3 separate regions of the Homo sapiens genome follow, and regions 1 and 2 are each linked to region 3. Evidence: promoter capture Hi-C in human tissues and cell types (Jung and others, 2019). All regions are on one chromosome and are shown on one strand. The core of a region is centred on a gene start or on the middle of the fragment in contact, and the rest is flanking DNA. Distances in the headings are between cores, read along the strand shown.

Region 1 (2,709 bases), core at 91-2,590, 220 kb before region 3:
TACTATACCTTTTCTATGTTTAGATACACAAACACTTACCATTGTGTTACAGTTGCCACAGTATTCAGTACAGCAACATGCTGTACAGGTTTGTAGCCTAGGTTTGTGTCAGTATACTATGTGATGTTTGCACAAAGATGCATTTCTCAGAATGTATTCTCATTAAGCAGTGTATGACTGTATTCTAATAGTATGCAGTGTCTTTTGTAGTCATTACTTCTGTTCCAGTTTCACTGCCACTGCCCTACTTTAGGACTTTATTACCTTTTGTTTAGACTGTTCTAACATCATCCTAACTAGTTTTCCTGCTTCCAGTTTCTTTTTTGCCAATCTTTTCTACCCACTCGTGTGAGTAGAGTCTTTTGAAGCCCAACCCTGATCATGTGACTTTGATGTTCACATCCTTTCAGTAGTTTCCCCATCACCTGTTGAATAAAATGCAAAATTCATGACATGGCACTCGAGTCTCTTCATGATCTAACCCTACCTTAGGCTTGTCTCTCACCATTACTCCTAAGACAAGAAATAATTCTGCTTAGCTAGATTTCTGTGTCTCTTTATTTATGATTATTTTCATTTTTGTTGTTGTTGTTTTTGGAGACCAGAGTCTCACTTTGTCCCAGGCTGGAGTGCAGTGGTGTGAACACAGCTCACTGCAGCTTCCACTTCCCAGACTCAAGCATTCCTCCCACCTCAGCCCCTCGAGTGGCTGGGATTACAGGTGCACGATACCACACCTGGTTATTTTTGTACTTTTTGTAGAGATGGAGTTTCACCATGTTGCCCACGCATGGACTCAAACTCCTGAGCTCAGGCAGTCCACCTGCCTCAGCCTCCCAAAGTGCTGGGATTACAGGCATGAGCCACTGCCCCCGGCCATTATTTTTATCTATTAAAAGACCCTTCTTTCTATCTCTCTACCAATTTCTTTTCTTTTCTTTTCTTTTTGAAACGGAGTGTCACTCTGTCGCCCAGGCTGGAGTGCAGTGGTGCGATCTCAGCTCACTGCAAACTCCACCTCCCGGGTTCACGCACGTTCTCCTGCCTCAGCCTCCTGAGTAGCTGGGACTACAGGCGCCCACCACCATGCCCAGCTAATTTTTTGTATTTTTAGTGGAGATGGGGTTTCACCGTGTTAGCCAGGATGGTCTCGATTTCCTGACCTCGTGATCCGCCTGCCTCAGCCTCCCAAAGTGCTGGGATTACAGGCATGAGCCACCAGGCCCGGCCAGTTTCTTTTCTTATTTTTATTTTTAAATTTCTTTTCGAAACAGGGTCTGGCTGTGTCAACCAGGCTGGAGTGCAGTGGCGTAATCTTGGCTCACTGCAACCTCAACCTCCCAGGCTCAAGCGACTCTCCCACCTCAGCCTCCTGAGTAGCTGGGACTACAGACGCACACCACCATGCCCAGCTAATTTTTGAATTTTTTGTAGAGATGGCGTTTTGCTATGTTGCCTAGACTGGTCTTGAACTGCTAAGCTCAAGTACTCCACCTGCCTAGGCCTCCCAAAGTGCTGGAATTACAAGCGTTAGTCACTGTGCCCAGCCTCTCTCTACCAATTTCCACCTGTCCTTCAAGGCCCAGCTGCAGTGCTGCTTCAACTGTAAAGCCTTCCCTAGCTCCTCAGCTAGAGTTATATATTGTAACACCTAGCATAATGTTTCGTGTTTAGTGGAAACTATGGAATTGCCTTTTAAAAATTTATTTATTTATTTATTTTTTGAGCTGGGGTCTCACTGTCACCCACGCTGGAGTGCAGTGGTGTGATCTTGGCTCTCTGCAACCTCCGCCTCTCAGGCTCAAGCGATCCTCCCACCTCAGCCTCCCGACTACCTGGGACCACAGGCACACACCACCACACCTGGCTATGCCATATTGTTTAGATTAGAATGGTCTAATATCACCATTTCATTTGGTTCTAATAGTCATTCAGCAAGTATCTGAGTGTCTGCCCATTATCCATATTAGGAGCACAAAACGCATTACTAGTGGTCACACACATAAAAGGTATGTTATAAATAGTACTGGAACAGATCAGCATAGTTGATTTTCTTTATCTGCAGAAGTTCTATAAAGTTCCCACTGAATTAGCAAGTACTAAACTAGTGCTCCTAGGGAAAGTGCAAAATTAGGTCCAAGCCTCTGGTCACAATATTTTCACCAATACCATATACAATACATGGTCTTGTTTTATGAGTGTTTCTGTTTAAAGACATTTAATTTAATTGATTCATATCATTGAACTCACGGCCAATAGCACTAGAACTCATGCCTGAACAAAGCTTATCTAATGCATTATTTTCTTTGTAAGGTATATCACAGCCTTCTTATGCTTAGGAATGCTCAGCAGCACTTCAGCACTACAGTTGGGGACCATTATAAACAGCAAAATCACTAACAAAAAGCACCCAAAAAATGCAAAATATGTGACACTAAATAGTCCTCAGAAAGGATACTTATTTACAGTGATGAGAGCTGAAATAAGAAGGTGGAGGCTTGACCTCAGCTGGGAATGTGCCTGCAGAGTGACTTTGCAGCTCTGTGCATGTGCGTGTCCAGAAATGACCGTGAAAGTACCTCAAGTATTGATTTTGGAGTAACAAATAAATTTTAGTGAAAAGATAAATTCACCAATACAGAATCCATTAATAATGGGGAACAACTGTATATTAGTCCCTATCTGTATCTAGACTGTTCTGTCATCTCC
Region 2 (2,798 bases), core at 55-2,554, 240 kb after region 3:
ATCTATGCATAAAAAACTTGTTAGGAGAGTTTAAAAAGCCTGAGAAGGATTTAATGAAATTAAGCTTTTGAAAAATGGATATGTAGGATTTCAGTATATTGTTTTAGGGAATGCAATAGAAATGTCTTAGAACTTTTTCATGGGGGGTATACAACATATTTCCAATCAGATTATTAATTCTTTTAAGATCTATGACCATTTCTTTAGCATCTCCTACCACTCTTAATTCATAATGCACATTCATTAATGTGACCAGATTTCTTTCTTTTTAAAAATGGAAAATAGGAATAAAGCCAAATTACTTACACTGTTTGTAGATTTCATTGACAGTATTGAAGTCATTTATGTCAGCCAGAAGAACAGTTGTTTTCACCACTAGAAGATATAAACATTGTCATTAGGTTTAGTTATTTGGTCTGACCCAAAACATTACTTAGAAAAAGAGTGTATGAATCTGAGACTGTCTTGATTAAAATGGGACTGAAATGGGACCAAAGAAGTGAAGTAGAACAGTTGCTATTTAAAACAACTTTTAAATAGCAACAAAGATATGGCACGGCATCTTACTGGATGCCATATATTTTTCAAAAAGACCAAAGAAATATCAAAAAGAAATGTGAAATAATATCAAATTGCTCACCGTTAGTGAAGTCACAGCCTGCAGCTTTCAGAATTTCACCCATGTTTTTAAGAGCCTGTGAACCAAGCCAAGAAAGGCCTAAGTCACTGATGTTAGATTTAAAGCTTTAATTAAATTCAATTAATCATCTTTTACTAATACCTCCTTAAATAGCCTATGTTGCAGAAAAATCCTCCCTACTCGCTTACAAGTGTGTTTCTTGGCTTTCCTTTAATAGAATGAGTCTTTCTGATATATGGTGAAAATGTTGTCTCCTTTTGTGCGTAAAAAGACTAGGTTGAAGTTCCTTCTTCAGTGCTAAAATGTGTTAATTGTTCAGCCAATGTCCACAGAAATAATTTCTGGTGTTCTTCATTCGATATCACGTCAAGGATAAGGATGAGCTAGTAAGCATTAAAACATATTTTCTTTTAAAGCAATATTTGACTTCAAAGGGTTCTTTTTCCTTTTTCTCAAAAAAACAATATTAGTAAATTATATAACAGTTGGAGACACTGGCTTCTGGAAAAACATTTATCTTTTTTTGGATTCACTCTTCCCACTTTGCTGGTCACAATGCAATATTTCATTATATTCTTGTGTCTTTTAAAATAATCTTCTAAATAGGTAATACATGGATATGGCAACAACAACAACAAAAAAACTCAAAAGCTATTAAAAAAGCATATACCGTGTAAAGATATCTCTCACCCCTCTCTCCCTCTCCCAAGTTTCCCTCCTCAGAGGTAACCACTGTTCCTAATTTATTGTATATCCTTCTAGGTACAGTCAATGCTTATGTTACATATTTTTAAACACACAAGCACACATGGTAGCATACTGTGCATGTTGTTCTGCATCTTGGTTTTATTACCATGGAACAATTTACCTCGGAGATCTTTCCACATTACTTTAGTTGTATTGATCTAGCATAATTTATTCAACCAGTTCTTTATGAGTGGATATTTAGGTTTTTAAAAATCTTTCAGCTAGGCCGGGTGTGGAGGCTCATGCCTGTAATCTCAGCACTTTGGGAGGCTGAGGTGGGTGGATCATGAGGTCAGGAGATCGAGACCATCCTGGCTAGCACGGTAAAACCCCGTCTCTACTAAAAATACAAAAAATAAGCCAGGTGTGGTGGCGTGTGCCTGTAGTCCCAGTTACTTGGGAGGCTGAGGCAAGAGAATTGCTTGAACCTGGAAGACAGAGGTTGCAGTGAGCTGAGATCACGACACTGCACTCCAGCCTGGGCGACAGAGCAAGGCTGTCTCAAGAAACAAAACAAAACAAAACAAACTTTCAGCATTATATGACTCAGTAAATGCAGTAAATTATAGTTTATTGTTTTATTTTATTTTATTTTTTGAGACAGTGTCTTGCTCTGTGTCCCAGGCAGGAGTGCAGTGGCACGATCTTGGCTTCCTGCAACTTCCACCTCCCAGGTTTAAGCGATTCTTCTGCATCAGCCTCCTGAGTAACTGGGACTACAGGCATGTGCCACCTGACTGGGTTACTTTTTTTTTCTATTTTTTTTTTGAGACAGGGTTCTTGCTCTGTTGCCCAGGCTAGAGTGGAGTGGCACAATCTCAGCTCACTGCAACCTCCGCCTTCCGGGTTCAAACGATTCTCATGCCTTAGCCTCCCGAGTAGCTGGGACTACAGGCACATGCCACCACACCTGGCTAATTTTTGTATTTTCAGTAGAGACGGGGTTTCACCATGTTGGCCAGGCTGGTCTTGAACTCCTGACCTCAGGTGATCTGCCCGCCTCGGCCTCCCAAAGTGCTGGGATTACAGGTGTGAGCCATTGTGCCTGGCCTCCCCCAACTAATTTTTGTATTTTTAGTAGAGATGGGGTTTCACCATGTTGTCTAGGCTAGTCTTGAACTCCTGACCTCAAGTGATCTGCCAGCCTCGGCCTCCCAAAGTGCTAGGATTACAGGTGTGAGCCACATCGTGCCTGGCCTAAATTATGGTTTAATTATATTTATTGGATTAAAATTATATTCCCCATTCTTATTTTTAAAAATGTTGACTTTTTACTTCTGTGGTGGTAATTTTTTTTTTTTTTTGAAGAGGGGCAGGTCAGTGGCCCTGAGAAGAAAATTTCCCAATCCATGTGGAAGTGGCAACATGTCATCTGACGTCAATAATTCAGGTTTAAGGTCACCTTAGTGTT
Region 3 (2,843 bases), core at 341-2,840:
CCAAACATTTCCTGAAGACTTTCCTCTGCTTTCTGACCTCCACCTACCTCCTCCCAAAGACATAACAAAAAAACTATTTGTGATCAGTGCAGGCAGCCAAGAGTGCCCAGTGGGCCTAAGGTACTGGGTAAAGGAACAGGAATCCACAATTCTTTCTTGGTATTAAGGTATCATTGACTTGCCTGATGGCTCGAGTATGTTAACCCCTTGCTTCATGGCTGGAATTTTAATTACCCCTCCTGGAGCTTTTCTGAAGAATTGATTTTGGCGTTTATTCATATTTCAGAAATCAACTCTATCATCAAATAGGAATGATGGTTAATTACAAAACAAAGTCCGCCCAAAGCACCAAATTATCAGACTGTGGCACATCCAGAGGTTTTGAAACTAGTTAGTGCTGCTGCCTCTGCTGGTAGCTTGTTAAAACCTGAACTGGGGCCGGGCGCAGTGGCTCACGCCTGTAATCCCAGCACTTTGGGAGGCCGAGGCGGGCGGATCACGAGGTCAGGAGATCGACACCATCCTGGCTAACACGGTGAAACCCCGTCTCTACTGAAAATACAAAAAAAATTAGCCGGCCGTGGTGGCGGGAGCCTGTAGTCCCAGCTACTCTGAGGCAGGAGAATGGCGTGAATCCGGGAGGCAGAGCTTGCAGTAAGCCAAGATTGCGCCACTGCACTCCAGCCTGGGCGACTCCGTCTCAAAAAACAAACAAACAAACAAAAACACAAAACCTGAACTGGGTGCGTTGGCTAGTGGTTTGGGAACAGAATTTTGGAGCTTTATAGGAGATGTCCTGGTCTGTTATACATCCACTCACCCCAGCCTCCAGGAACTGGGGAGCTGGTAGAGGGGGGTGCCGGCCACTTTGACTGTCGCTGGCCAATCCTGTCTTCTGCATCCCTCCAAGGCTCCATGGGGACATCCAAGGTGAGGTTCCTCCATTCTGCAAAGTTGCAAATGTCTCTGCTCATAATTTCAAAAGTCTTGTCTGAACTAGACTTTCCCTGCTCCCTCGGGGTAGGAATTTTGTCTCCTCTCCATCCTGGCATCTTTACCTCCTCCCCATCCCGGGGCCTGGTCCCCAGCCAGTGGACGCTCTGTTAATATGAACTGGCACTGGTGGGGTGCTCTGGGCACTGGCAAGACAGCTCTTGGCGCTTGTCATCAATTAGCCCAATTCTCACCACTTTTTTCTCCATCCCCGCGTCAGTGGGTGCGTCCCGCAGGTCATGACCCCAAGTTCTAGATGTAAGATTCCTGCCATGTCTCCTTTCCCCCAGAAGACCCCTCCCCGCACTCCCAACCCGACAGGCCCCTAAAGCTGCCTGTGTTCCGTGCCTGCGGCTCCGGACCCCTGGAGTCTGATGCCCGCCTGGGCTCAGGCACGGACGGAGTGGAGCCAGGTGGCAGCAGGCAGGGCGCGCCGCCAGAGTGCCCAGCTCCCGGGGCTGCCCACAGGGTGGGGCCGCCCTCGCCGCCGCTCCCTCTCCGCGCCTTCCCCATCCCCAAAGAGGACACCCCTCCTTCCGCCCGGCCCGCTCCCCACCCCCGCCGCGGCACCGCCTCCCCAGCCGCCCGCCCTTGCCCAGCGCCTCCCAGGCAGCCAGCGAGCGAAGGGAGCGCTCTGGGATGGGACTTGGAGCAAGCGGCGGCGGCGGAGACAGAGGCAGAGGCAGAAGCTGGGGCTCCGTCCTCGCCTCCCACGAGCGATCCCCGAGGAGAGCCGCGGCCCTCGGCGAGGCGAAGAGGCCGACGAGGAAGACCCGGGTGGCTGCGCCCCTGCCTCGCTTCCCAGGCGCCGGCGGCTGCAGGTGAGCGCGGCGCGCTTTCCCCCGGCTCTGCGCGGCCGGGCGGCCTCGAAGTGCAGGCGGACCGACCCACCGACAGAATACCGAGCCTGGGCTGCCCGACGCGCAGGCGCCCTCCCCAGGCCCGCACTGCAGCCCCCAGCGCCCCGGGGCCCCGGCGCCTTCGACCCCTCCGAGGACAGGGGGAGAGGGAGGGCGGCGCTGCCCGACCCCTCGGCCGGGAGAGCTGGGCGCGCTCCCTGCGCAGGACAAGCCGCGCTGCAGCCGCCCCGGAGTGCCCCGTGGGGGCGCTGTGGCACGCAGCGGGGACGCCCAGACCCCGGCCACCGCGACCCAGGGAAAGGGAGACCTGTTGAGCGGGTATGCAGGGTGATTCCTATTCCACGGACAGCCGATGGCTCCCCCTTCCCTCTTCGGAACCTGGTATTTTCATGCCCGTGTCATCTGGATTTTGTTCTTGGGTCTCTATGGCAGCTAAACCTCCAGCTTCCCTATATTGTGGAAGAGGGAGAGAAAGGGGAAGGCATTTTGTGGTAGTTGCTAGAAACCCCAGAACAATTTGGAGCCGTTTGGGGAGAGGACAGAGAAATGGGGACTGTCCCTGGTAGGGTCTCCAGGACTGGGGGCACAGGAAAGTGCTCTCCTCAGGGACACTCGCGCCCACCCTGAACAAACCCAATTGACCAAGTTTCAATTTGTCATAAATCAGGAAGCCACAATGCATCTGCACCAAGCACACTTAAAATCGGCCTTTAAGGAATGGGGCAGTCAAGAGACTTCAGGGACCCGTGGTCGAGAGCAGAGACTGGGGTCAGCCTGCTTGGGTTTCAACCCCAGCTGTGAAGTTTACAGGGTTGATAACTTGAAGGTACCCAAGTATGCCTCAGTTTCCTCATCTGTCTAATGAGGATGGTAATACCCACAGAACTGTGAGGATTAAATGAGATATGGCGGCCGGGCACGGTGGCTCAGGGCTGTCATCCCAGCACTTTGGGAAGCCGGGGCGGGCGGATCACCTGAGGTCGGGAGTTC

The links. Contacts are between HindIII fragments. The study calls those that stand out against the background at their distance.
Region 1: a contact is called between a fragment that was not itself captured here and the fragment with the promoter of MATN2 in region 3, in 1 of the 25 tissues and cell types used here (heart right ventricle).
Region 2: a fragment that was not itself captured here is called in contact with the fragment with the promoter of MATN2 in region 3 in 3 of the 25 tissues and cell types used here (liver, mesendoderm cells and thymus).

The regions. Positions count from the first base shown.
Region 1 is chr8:97,649,026-97,651,734 of GRCh38, forward strand. The region is part of intron 1 of MTDH (metadherin); the gene reads left to right. Among named protein-coding and RNA genes, the nearest start is that of MTDH, 6.2 kb to the left of the region's middle. The HindIII fragment of the contact is 5,862 bases long and covers 1-2,709 here.
Region 2 is chr8:98,105,632-98,108,429 of GRCh38, forward strand. RIDA (reactive intermediate imine deaminase A) reads right to left here. Exons shown (of 6, transcript NM_005836.3): 3 at 641-695; 4 at 307-375. Among named protein-coding and RNA genes, the nearest start is that of RIDA, 10 kb to the right of the region's middle. The HindIII fragment of the contact is 4,745 bases long and covers 1-2,798 here.
Region 3 is chr8:97,867,474-97,870,316 of GRCh38, forward strand. MATN2 (matrilin 2) reads left to right here and starts at 1,591. Exons shown (of 19, transcript NM_002380.5): 1 at 1,591-1,814. RefSeq lists an enhancer at 692-1,191. The HindIII fragment of the contact is 19,586 bases long and covers 1-2,843 here.